Linked DNA regions of Homo sapiens: regions 2 and 3 are each linked to region 1. The links are contacts of gene promoters, found by promoter capture Hi-C in blood cells and fetal thymus (Javierre and others, 2016). All regions are on one chromosome and are shown on one strand. The core of a region is centred on a gene start or on the middle of the fragment in contact, and the rest is flanking DNA. Distances in the headings are between cores, read along the strand shown. Region 1 holds the start of SLC27A5 (solute carrier family 27 member 5). Region 2 holds the start of VN1R1 (vomeronasal 1 receptor 1). Region 3 overlaps ZNF772 (zinc finger protein 772).

Region 1 (4,078 bases), core at 635-3,134:
TGAGGCTCTCAGAGAACAGTCAAGTATAGGGATTTGTGGTTGGGTTCACAGGCTGAATTTGGACTGAAAGTAATATGTCAAGATCAAAGGTTTCAGTGGCTGTTTACTGGACACAGGAAGAATTCTGGCATTGACCTCTCAAATTACATTGGGGGTCAGAGTTCAGGCCAAATATCAAAATCAAGTCTGGGAGCAGTGGCTCACGCCTGTAATCCCAGCATTTTGAGAGGCTGAGTTGGGCAGGTCCCCTGAGGTCAGGGGTTAGAGACCAGCCTGGCTAACTTGGGGAAACCCTGTCTCTACCAAAAATACAAAAATTAGCTGGGCATAGTGGTGTGTGCCTGTAATCCCAGCTACTCAGGAGGCTGAGGCAAGAGAATTGCTTGAACCCAGGAGGTGGAGGTTGCAGTGAGCCGAGATTGCACCACTGCAGTCCAGCCTAGGCGACAGAGCGAGACTCTGCCTCGAAAAAAAAAACAGCCAAACAAAAAACAAATGTCAAAATCAGAGGGTAAAGTGGTTTCAGAGGTCAACACTGAGTCACAAGTCAAGTGTGGGGTCAGGTCAGCCTGAGAGTTCAGAGGCTGGTGCTAGGGCTAATGGGCACCCTCACCAGTGGTCCCCGAGGTATAGATGAAGAGGGCAGGGCTTCTCCATGTGATCCCAGCACGCAGGTCAGCAGGCACTGGGTGGGAGGGCGCTGCATCCAGGGCAGCCCCCAGAGCCCCCACCCCTGGTGTAGGGGAGGTATGGCTGAGGTAGAAGCAGCGGATGTTCTCAGCCTGCAGCTTGGGAAGGATCTCCTCCAGGCTCTCCCGGAGGTCTGCAGAGATGGGTCAGAGGAGAAACAGAGGCAAGGCTCACCTTTGAGGTTGCGAGGCGGGATCTGAGACCCACAGATGCAGGCAGAGGAGCAGCTAGTAGAGAAAAGCATCCATGTTGTTTGGTAAAGAATCCCATCATTAGTATTTTTGGTCAAATTGTGGGAAAATTAAACTCTGATGACCTGAGAACTACTTTCTGCTCATAAGTCTTGATTATAATTGCCTGTGAAAGTAGGCAGGTGGGGACCAAGGGCCTCTGCCAGTCCCAGCAGAACCCCTGTCCTATAGTCCCTGCCCTTGCCCCCTTCCATTCTCCACTGGCTCCAAGGCCCTCACCTGGGTCCACCACCAGCACCCGGGCCCCAGAGCTCAGCACAGAGTGCGCCAGGGGCATCCCCCGGCCATGCGGGTTGATCCAGGCTGTTGGGCAGCCCAGCTTGGCCAGCCCCAGCCACATACACAGGGCTGGAACGGCCTGGGAAGCCAGCACAAGGAGGGCAGTAGGCTCCCCGGCACACAGGCTCGCAGGGTCACCCAGCTCAGCCTTCAGGGCCCATGCCGCCTGGCAGGCCCGGGCATCCAGCTCACCAAAGGTGACTGAGCCGGCCCCAGGCCCCGTCCACACCAAGAGTGCCCTGCCAGGCTGCGCTCGTGCTCGCCGCTCGAAGGCATCTACAAAGGTGTCAGGCGGCTGCCGGCTCAAGCATCCCCTGATCTTCAGGCCCAGGTGGAGGATCTTGGCCAAGAAGATCACATCAGCCGGCAGCCAGCGTAGTCCTGGGGGCAGCCGTGCTGGCAGGAGGGTTAGTGCCAGGGCCGCAGCTGCCAGGCTCAGCCCATGGGGCACCCAGGGGCCGAGCCAGGGCCGTGCTAACATGGCCAGCCCAAGTAGCACGCAACATGTGGGATCCCCCAGGAGCCAGCGCAGGGTCAAGGCCACAGCGACTGGCCACACTGGCTGCCCCAGGCCCCAGAGCAGGAGCAGCAGCAGCAGCAGCAAGGCCAACTGTTGCCTGACACCCATGGTACCAGCTCCTCCCTAGGAGCAGCAGCTGTGGAGTGTTCAGGCTCACCTCTGGCCCCTCAAGAGTAGCCCAATGGCTCCTCCCCAGGGGTGGTGGCCCTGGCACTGCTGACAGTGGCTGGTCCTCTCCCCAGGACTTTGCCCCCAGCCCTTCTCCTCTACGTTTGTTTGCTCTGCCTGGTCTTGTGTGTGGGTCCAGCCCCTCTCTGCCTGGCGCTAACCCTTTCCATCACTGGCCTCTGGGTTCCCAGGTCTCTGCCCCTTGGGCACCACTAGCCTCCTTCCTGCTGTCCTGCTTGCCCCATCCACCCTCCAGGGCTGGCATCTAACTCCCTTGCCTCCCCTCCCATCCCTGCTGGGTACCAGACACTCAGAGCACAGAAATCCCTGCCCTTGGGAACACTCCAATCAGGCCAAACAGAAAAGCAACAGGACAGCAAGGTGGACCTCATTGGGAGGTCCTCCTGTGACACCCACTGAAACCCTGAGGAGAGGGGCTCAGCCAGGCTAAGCCCCTTGTCCCATGATCCGAGGAATCGTACCCTCCTGCCAGGCATACAGCAAGTGCTCAGTAAATACAGGAACACTGGCATCGCCTGGATTCAAACCCAGCTCTGCCCCCCACCCATGTGCTTGCTCTGACTCTCTGCTCCACCTCTGGCTTTGACGACGATGGAGTCCTGGGGTTCAGGAGACTGAAGTCAGCCCATGATGCACACAGTTGGATCATGAAAGCCCTGGCCTCTCACCTTGAGGAAGCAGTCTCAGAAGGTGAACCCAGAGGAGCTGCCATTGGCCTAGGAGCCTGGCAGGTCAGGCTGGGGTATGGCCTGGGGCCATACCCCACTCCACCAGCTCCAAATCCTTATGGCAGGGCACCTAGGCTAGGAGCCACTATTGTGCTGAAGAGGAGAGGGGCAAAGAGTGGCTGCTCTCTCCGCTGGATGCAGGGGCCTGGGACACTGGCTGGCCAGTAGGGGTGGTGTCCCCAACCGCCCAGCAGTCAGCCCCAGGATCCCACCCCTCACTGTTTCCTGCCCCCAACACGGCCATCGGAGCCCTCCCTGAACTTTGCCCCCAGCACCAAGGGCAGATATATGGGGGCTTATATACCCTCAGTGCAACCTGGCCCCAAAGATCCCCCTGGGCTCCCCACAAGTAAGGTGCTCAGCCATGTCCATCAAGGTCGGGGAGGGGAAGTCTTAAGTCCAAAAGACCCTTAGAGCCTGACTGGAAGATCTATGGGAGGGGCCTTAAAGGTCGTGGACAGCAGCAACCAGGAGTATGATGGGGCTTTCACGTGGCCTCCCTCTCGGAGACCCACCTCAGATGTGGCCTGCCTATCCTACTCCCCACAGGACTGAGGGATCCAAGAGAACCAAGTGCTGGTTATATATGCAGCCCACCTTAGCCCCTACAGAATAGAGGTCCTAGATGGCAAAGTGGACCATCCTGTTCCTGCCCAGGACAGCCTGTGGGCCGCATGGATGCCACCCAAGAACAGGGACGCTGAACCCTGACACTCACATCTTGTCTATGAGGGCAAGGCACGCACTGATCCAGGTGCTCACAGCTTCGTGGTTTAGGCCCCATGGCCTACAGTCCTTTATTAGAGCGAGAGTCCCGAGGCCCAGCCCCCATATATGATGGGTCCACTTGAGTCTCCTTAGGCGCCCCATGAGGGAGTAACAGCTTGGGTAGAGAGCTAGGGACCTTGCCCAGCCTGACCCTGGGGCAGGCAAGCGGCCCCCCAGCCCCCACCACCACCCCAGGAGAGGGCGGGGTGAGAACCGGAGTCAAATCTTGGGCCGGGTCCAAGCGCCTGAGCGCCCGGTTTACGCAGGAAATAGTCCAGTTCTCAGAAGTGGTCTAACCAGCCCCAGCCCCAGCCCGGCACCACCTGGAGGGTTCAAGTACATGGAGGAGAGGAGTAAGGCGGACTTAGGCCCTGGTATGGAGAAAGGGTGAAGGGAGAGAGAGGACCTGCGCTCAGGAGGGAGCGTGGTCTAGTGGCGGGAACCACGGGTCCCGCAGCGGGCGTGGCCGACTGTGCGGGAGGCCCCGGATCCACCGTGGGCGAGGCCAGGCCCCAGCGCCATCAGGGCGCAGGGTGCGCCGCCAGGTGGCGCTCCAGCAGCGCGCGGTGCGAGAAGACCTTGCCGCAGGCGGGGCAGGGCGCGCGCTCGGGCCGGTGAGTGCGCATGTGCACGTTGAGCGAGCTCTTCTGCGT
Region 2 (4,078 bases), core at 404-2,903, 1.1 Mb before region 1:
GAGAGATATGAGTATCACTCATGATGAGGACAAAAGGGCTGCGTGCTGGGAAACATGAGGCGACCAACACAGAGTTGGTCACTATCCACTGGCCTGGGTTTGCAACTACAGTTGTCCAAATTGTCAGAAAACTATGGACTGAATAGAAAACAAAAAAGGAGCTCACCAGGACCATGATGGTGTGTGTGGCTCTGGCTTCCTGGGAAGGTCTGCAGGAGAGTCTGTTGCTGTGATTGTGTTGGACTTGCTGCTTGTGTCTGTAGAGGAAGAAGACCATGGAGCCACTGGCCCAGACCATGAAGCCCAAACTCATAAAATCAGGGGAAAAATATAAGACTGCATGTAATGAGCTAAATCTCTTTGATGCTTTGTAAGAACAGTATCCATAATTGTTTTTTGCACTACTGTTTTTGCTATTCAGTGGGCCATTCACTAATAGAAGAACAGATGCATTCATCAAGACATGGGGGGCCCAGCAGAGGAGACAACAGAAGTCAATAAACCTTGGGGATCTAATCTTGATCTCCATCCACCTGCATATACTGGGGTTGAGCTTAATGGCTTGGAATCCATTGAGAAGGCAGATGGTGCTGAGGGAAACTCTTGTGCCCACCCTGTGATAATAAAAGACAAACTTACATCCAGTGTCATTCAGCAAATATTTCAATCCAAAAGCTGCCATTGTCTGAGGTATCCCTTTAAAGAAAAGGACCATGGAGTTAGCCAAGGCCAGTTGGCTGAGAATCAAGTCCGTGGGTCTCAGCTTGTGTCCAGTGAACAAAATTAAGTTATAAAAACAAAGGAGAAAGGAATTTCCCAGGATCCCAACTCCAGTCTGAATGAGGAAGCTAATCCCTGATTTTACTTTTCCAAAAGCCATTTCATCAAAATCTAGGGGATGTTGATTTTCATTGAGGTCTGAAGAATCAGTAGAATAAAAAAGCAGAAAGAAGTATCTTGTCATCAGTGGAGACAGAAGTTTTAATGTGTCTCCAACCATATTTTCTCATCTTAAACAGAAATTAAGATTGTCCCTGTTCGTGCAAAGGCAATTGCTTGTGTGTCCAACTGCAGAGAAGCAGGTGAATGAATGAGGGCTCAACCGCACAACAGATCCACAAATCAAACCTATAAAACTCAGGGCTTACACACATGCAACAAGTAAATACAAGCAAAACTAGGGAAATATATAAAAACAGAACACAGAAGAGTCAATATCATTAGAGTGATATTATACTATAGTTTGCAAAATGTAATCATGACGGAACCCTGGGTAATATGGACAGGGCTTTTTCTGTATTATTTCTTATGACTGCTTGTGAGTCTACACTTATTTCAATAAAACCTTCAATTAAGTAGCCTGGAGATATGAAAAGCAAAAATAATACACCATAAAACCTTTTCCACACTAATATTTTAGTAAACACCATTGTTATTGATGCATTGAAACAAATTTTAGGCCGGGTGCAGTGGCTCACACCTGTAATTCCAGCACTTCGGGAGGCCAAGATGGAGACCATCCTGGCCAACATGGTGAAACCCTGTCTCTACTAATAATACAAAATACTAATAATACAAAAATTAGCCGGGCATGGCGGCGCGTGCTAGTCCCAGCTACTCGGGAGGCTGAGGCAGGAGAATCGCTTGAACCTGGGAGGCAGAGGTTGCAGTGAGCTGAAATCAAACCATTGCCCTCCAGCCTGGGCGACAGAGCGAGACTCTGTCTCAAAAAAAAAAAAAAAAGAAATTAAAAAAACGCTACAATACAATTGGTAACAAGGCCTTCAGCACAGTACAAATGCTAACTTGAAGAATTTTTAAAAACTATAATTTTTGGAACAATCAACATTGCATCATGGTATATTTTATTTTAAGCACATATATTTCTGTTATTTTCCACCGGACAGGTCTAGAGATTGTGAATTGACTCCGTAGAAATAACCATGACCACCTTGAGCCCACACATTTTTATCTCAATGCCATTTCTCACAAGTAAATGCAAAAGATCCTGAAAATAAATACTAATCCCAGAAACACCTAAGATATCCTTAAAACTTGTTAAATAGGAAATTCAATATGTTCCAGAAAGCTTGGGTTTATTTTTAGGGAAAGATAATTCAATTGGGAGGGAATTTCATTGCACAATATTCATATATATCAATCACAAAAGAAATAGTAACTGCGGCCAGGCACGGTGGCTCACGCTTGTAATCTCAGCACTTTGGGAGGCTGAGGCGGGTGGATTACAAGGTCAGGAGATGGAGACCATCCTGGCCAACATGGTGAAACCCCGTCTCTACTAAAAATACAAAAATTAGCTGGGTGTTGTGGTGCGTGCCTGTAGTCCCAGCTACTCGGGAGGCTGAAGCCTCCTGGGTTCACGCCATTCTCCTGCCTCAGCCTCCTGAGTAGCTGGGACTACAGGCGCCCACCACCACGCCCGGCTAGTGTGTGTGTGTGTGTGTGTGTGTGTGTGTGTGTGTTTAGTAGAGACGGGGTTGCACCGTGTTAGCCAGGATGGTCTCGATCTCCTGACCTCGTGATCCGCCCGCCTCGGCCTCCCAAAGTGCTGGGATTACAGGGATGAGCCACCTCGCCCGGCCATAATTTAGATTCTTTTGGTGTCTCTATGGAATTGCTATCATCAGGGAAAATTATGAGGTATTTTCTCCCATGAATAACTACATCTCTTTAGGGGTGGAGCAATCAATAACACAGCAGTATCAAGATTCTCAGGCGAGAGGTGGCTCACGCCTGTAATCCCAGCAGTTTGGGAGGCCGAGGCTGGTGGATCAGCTGAGGTCGGGAGTTCGAGACCAGCCTGACCAACAGGGAGAAACCCCGTCTCTACTAAAAATACAAAAATTAGTCAGAGGTGGTGGCGCATGCCTGTAATCCCAGCTACTCGGGAGGCTGAGGCAGGAGAATCGTTTGAACCCCAGAGGCGGAGGTTGCAGTGAGCCGAGATCATGCCATTGCACTCCAGCCTGAGCAACAAGAGTGAAACTCGGTCTCAAAAAAAAAAAAAAAAAACTCAGGCTCTGAGGTATGAAAACCTTTTAGATTCCCACAAACCACTTGTTGACAAATGTTTTTCCTATTTATATGAACTCATCATTTATTTTCAAGATAGTTCCTGATTCTTTGCTTTAATCTCTTATTTTGCTCCATTGTCCTAGTTGTATAATTTATTTCCAATATGCATTTGGTTTCCTATTTTTTCAGCTTCTCCTTATAAAGTACCATTTTTACTATGACTATTTTGAAAGCTTCTTGTATGTATAAAGTTAGTGTGATTATTGACTTTAACATACCACCTCCTTCTCCTCCTAGCCTCAGAAAGAAGTGTTGGTAACTGGTGAGAATTTTCAGACAGATTTTCCTTTTTTTTTTTAATTTAATTTAATTTTTTTTTCTTTCTTTGCTTTCTTTTTTTTTTTTTTTTGAGACAGAGTCTCACTCTGTTGCCCAGGCTAGAGTGCAGTGGCGCTATCTCGGCTCACTGCAAACTCCACCTCCCACGTTCAAGCGATTCACCTGCCTCAGCCTCCTGAGTATCTGGGATTACAGGCGCCTGCCACTGCGCCTGGCTAAATTTTTTTTGTATTTTTAGTAGAGATGGGGTTTCACCATGTTGGCCCGGCTGGTCTCGAATTCCTGACCTCGTGATCCACCCACCTTGGCCTCCCAAAGTGCTGGGATTACAGGCGTGAGCCACCGCGCCAATTTAATTTAATTTTTTAAAGTTCCAGGATACAGGTGCCGGATGTGTAGGTTTGTTACATAGGTAAACGTGTGCCATGGTGGTTTGCTGCACCTATCAACCCGTCACCTAGGTATTAAGCTCAGCATGCGTTAGCTATTTATCCTGATGTGCTCCATCCCCCGACCCCTTTGACATATTCCAGTGTGTGTTGTTCCCCTCCCTGTCTCCATGTGTTCTCATCGCTCAACTCTCACTTATAAGTGAGAACATTTGGTGTTTGGTTTTCTGTTTCTGTGTTAGTTTTCTGAGGATAATGGCTTCCAGCTCCATCCATATCCCTGCAAAGGACGTGATCTCATTCTTTTTATGGCT
Region 3 (4,078 bases), core at 1,184-3,683, 1.0 Mb before region 1:
AATATACTAAATGACTAATACATCATGACCAAATGGGAATTATTACAGAAATGCAAGGTTGGCTTAACATTTAAAAAAATCAGTCAATGTAATTCATATTAAACAACTAAAACAGAAAAAGAAAAAAACCATATAGGATTATGGTCACCAGAGTCCAAGAAAACGCCCCACAAATCCCTATTTTCACCTTTGTGTAGTTCTCTTCCACTTTTAACCAGGATTAGCTAGGGTTACTTATGAAATATAGCAGAAATGACGGCTCATCACTTTCAGTTTAAGGTAATGACAGATACTGTGGCTTTGTTCTTGTGTGAGTTCTCTCCTGGATCACTTGCTTTGAAACTATTTCTCTACAATGGAACACTCTTAGCAAAGTACAAATGAAAAGAAATGAACTATGAAACACAGAACACCACCATGAGCCTTAATTTCAGAGTTTAAGAAGCCAAAAACATTAGAATACATATTAAATTACTCTATCTCTGTAGAATTCTAGGAAATACAAACAAATCTACAGTGACAACGGATCAATAGTTGCCTGGGGATGGGTGAAGGAAAGGGAGAAAATATAAAAGGAATCAGGAAACTTTTGGTTTGAGAAGTGCCAACATGTATCAAAACTTATCAAATGGTACACTATAAATATGTGCAGTTTATTGCAAAAATGTTTAGACTGACTTCTGGACAGTAACCTTAGCCATAAGAGACACAGGTATGGAAATATTTCTGTAAACCCTCATAATGGAGCCAGAGTAATGGAAACACATGTGGATGTACCTTTAGAAGGGTCATATTCCCTATAGTTTGCTGCAGTTTTCTCATTCCTTTATTAATCTGGGTTTCTGCACCAACTATGATTCCTACCTGGGCCTTCTGGAGGACAGCCAATATCAACTGCCTACTGAAAAATAGACTTCAGAGATCTTGACATGTCCACTGAGTTCAAATTCTCCTCAAGAAGCCTTGGGAATATGAAGTATCTTCTGGGAACAAGGGACGTAATTCATGTTGCTCCCAGACACATTAGAGATTATCACAACAAATGCCCACTGCTTAGGGTGACCTCAATTACACAAAAAATCTTAACATATAGACCAAAAGATTAGGCCTACAAAGACTGGCATTCTTTCCTAGGAGAGCTGAAGCAGTCAAGTAAGTTAGCTTGACACTAGCATAAGAGCTAGTCTTTGCCATCCTACTATCACTTCAGAGATACAGATAGTTGGAGCTCTCACAAAAGCTGTTCTTCCCTTCATACTGGCTTAGCTCAATTCTGTTCTCAACCCAACCCACAAAGCGAACAGAATCCTCAAGATTTCAGATAGTCTAAAAATTAAGGCATTTGTTGCAAAACCAGAATATGAGGCAGCCAATTTCAGGTCAGGTGTCTTGAAGGCTAGAAAAATTCGTCCCAAGTGCCATGTGAGATCAACTATATCCATGAAGGGAAACCTCTGCCAGTGGTCAGCAGAACAAAGCTCCCATTTTTCTGGCTAAAACTGGGTCATGCTCATGCTTAAACCAGTAGTGGGGCAGAAAAAAAGTGAGAATCCTTGATGGCCTCAGGCTACTGATGATTCCCTCCAGGGAAGGGAATAGTACAGAGGTCTGTCTTTTGAAACACATTGGGGTTACTTTGGCACAAGGCAGGACTCTTCCAGCACAAAGACAGATGGCTTCTAACAGGCACTGCCTTGACGAAATTCCAGCAAGAGTCTAGAAAATTCAGCATAGCTCCAGAAGGCTTCCCATATAGCTGGCACTCGGAAGAACCTCCCCAGGGTGAGTGTTTGAGTGTATAAAGTTCTACTTCTGGCTGTCGGCTACACATAAAGGCTATGCTTGGAGCTTCTCTCTGATGTCAGTTATTATGTTGAACAAGGAAACGGAATTATCTCCCATCCTAAGGCCTTTCTCCAGTGTGAATTTTCCAGTGGCGGATGAGGGAAGCCCTCTGCCTGAAGGCCTTCCCACATTCACTGCACTTATATGGCCTTTCTCCAGTGTGAATTCTATGATGCTGAACAAGTACATGTTTGTGGCTAAAGGCTTTTCCACATTCACTGCACACATAAGGCTTTTCACCATTATGAACTCTTTGATGTGCAATAAGGTCAGAGCTTTGGCTAAAGAACTTCCCACATGCGATGCACTCATAAGGCCTTGCTCCAGTATGAACACTCCAATGTTTAATGAGTCTGTATTTGTGACCAAAGTATTTTCCACATTCGCTGCACTCATATGGCCTTTCTCCAGTATGGATACTCTCATGCTGAACAAGTGTAGATTTGTGACTATAGGCTTTCCCACATTCACTGCACTTGTAAGGCCTTGCTCCAGTGTGTACTCTTTGATGTACAATAAGGTTAGAGCTATGATTAAAAACTTTCCCACATATGCCACACTCATAAGGCATTTCTCCAGTGTGGATTCTCTGGTGCTGAGCAAGTATGGGTTTGCGGCTAAAGGTTTTCCCACATTCACCGCACTCATAAGGCCTTTCTCCAGTGTGGACTCTCTGGTGTTGAACAAGTGAGTCTTTGCGGCTGAAGGTTTTCCCACATTCACTGCATTTGTAATGCCTTTTTCCACAGTGAGAGGCCTCCTCACACTTGGTGTTGCTGTGTGGCTTCCACTCATTGTGAGGGGCATGGTGCTCGAAAATGCTTGAGCTGGCTAGGAAGTCCTTACAAGCCTCCCCTGTCACAAAAGACATCTCCATTGATTGCACAGCACAGTTGTTCAGAAGAAAGGGCCTGCTCTTATCACTTCTAAAGGGTTTCTCTCCACTGTGCTGCTTCTGGTGCTGGTGAAGGTTTGCACTGAAGCAGAACTGTTTCCCACACAGCACACACATGTATGGTTTCTGCCCTGGGTGTGTTTCCTGGTGCTCAGCCAAGTGCAAAATGTCTTTTAAGACCAGGCCACATGTCCCACAGGGGTAAGCCTTCTGAGTAGAAGGACCTCCCTTGGGAATCCTGATCTGTGACATTCCTATAGAAAAGCTCTGCTCAAAAGGTATCTCTTCATCCTCCATTCCATGCCAACAACCTGAAAGCAGAGAAATGCTGGTGAAGTACAAATTGACACAGGTGGAAGAGGGGAAGCCTCACTACAAATATGTGTCTAACACAACTAAGACCAAGGTCATAGGACTGTTGTTAGGACAAGGGTCCAAACTCAAGTTCAGCAAATGTGTACTATACGGTAGTTGGCATCTAAATGTCATAGAATGGAGAAGGCCTCAACTGGGAGAGGACAAAGATGTGGGGTACAGCACAAAAAAGAGGCAGGTCTCAAAGTCATTCACAATCAGATTTTCTTGGCTGCTGGGGACAGGTGAGAGTTGTGCAGAAGGTTATGGTCCATACCAAAGAAAATCAAATTGCTACTCAGTAGTTGGTGTTTAAGGACTATTTGGGCTACACATCTCATGAAACACTAAGTACAGGCCAATGCTGGAAGGCACTGTAGAACAAGCCATGGAGAGGAACAGGTGAGACATGAAGGCAGAGGTATGGAACATCCAGAGGCCAAAGGCCAGAGTATGAAAGGCCAGTGGCCTTAGCACTAATACAACTGTAGGCACAAAGAGGCTATGGAATGATATGAACCCAGCCCTGACATCACACCTTTCCCCAGCTCCTACTCACCAGGGTCACTCCCACCTGGAGTCTCTGTGGCAACAGCTAGGGTCATGTCCACCCAGTCAGGTACCCAGGGCTCACTACCCATCACCAGTGAGGCAACTATGTGGGACATGAAAGATGTATGTCCTAAGGGAAAGATAGAACAGCACTGGTCTGGGTAACCCATATAGAAAACTAAATATTATTAAAATAATCTCAGAGTAAGGTCTTGCAGGAATAGTGCAGTGGTCCTAGCAAGTAGCGACCATAATGGTCCCTACAATTCCTGACATAGGCAGGCCACAGGAAATGTCAGCTAAAGGAAGAGCGCAGAATCCCAGGCACAGAGGTGTCATGGATACAGACAGAGGAATTCAGACAGGGAAAGGACAAGATGGATATGACCCACTGGGCTGACAATACAATGCATAACTCCTGAATCCATGCCT

The links. The method cuts DNA at HindIII sites, captures the fragments that hold promoters and counts their contacts. A CHiCAGO score of 5 or more calls a contact.
Region 2: the fragment with the promoter of VN1R1 here is called in contact with the fragment with the promoter of SLC27A5 in region 1 in 1 of 17 cell types (total CD4 T cells); the score reaches 6.3 in total CD4 T cells.
Region 3: a fragment that was not itself captured here is called in contact with the fragment with the promoter of SLC27A5 in region 1 in 3 of 17 cell types (M1 macrophages, total CD4 T cells and total B cells); the score reaches 6.6 in M1 macrophages.

Annotation. Positions count from the first base shown.
Region 1 is chr19:58,510,108-58,514,185 of GRCh38, forward strand. It overlaps SLC27A5 (solute carrier family 27 member 5), which reads right to left and starts at 1,885. Exons shown (of 10, transcript NM_012254.3): 1 at 1,161-1,885; 2 at 614-823. The coding sequence starts at 1,848. LOC105372485 (a long non-coding RNA gene) reads left to right here. Exons shown (of 2, transcript XR_001754024.2): 2 at 1-1,016. ZBTB45 (zinc finger and BTB domain containing 45) reads right to left here. Exons shown (of 3, transcript NM_001316979.2): 3 at 3,423-4,078. The coding sequence ends at 3,947. RefSeq lists an enhancer at 1,588-2,102 and silencers at 3,887-3,936, 3,957-4,078. The HindIII fragment of the contact is 7,866 bases long and covers 1-4,078 here.
Region 2 is chr19:57,455,487-57,459,564 of GRCh38, forward strand. VN1R1 (vomeronasal 1 receptor 1) reads right to left here and starts at 1,654. Exons shown (of 1, transcript NM_020633.4): 1 at 1-1,654. The coding sequence starts at 1,000. The HindIII fragment of the contact is 5,648 bases long and covers 1-2,087 here.
Region 3 is chr19:57,471,371-57,475,448 of GRCh38, forward strand. ZNF772 (zinc finger protein 772) reads right to left here. Exons shown (of 4, transcript NM_001144068.2): 4 at 1-3,051. The coding sequence ends at 1,904. Among named protein-coding and RNA genes, the nearest start is that of ZNF772, 4.2 kb to the right of the region's middle. The HindIII fragment of the contact is 6,834 bases long and covers 1-4,078 here.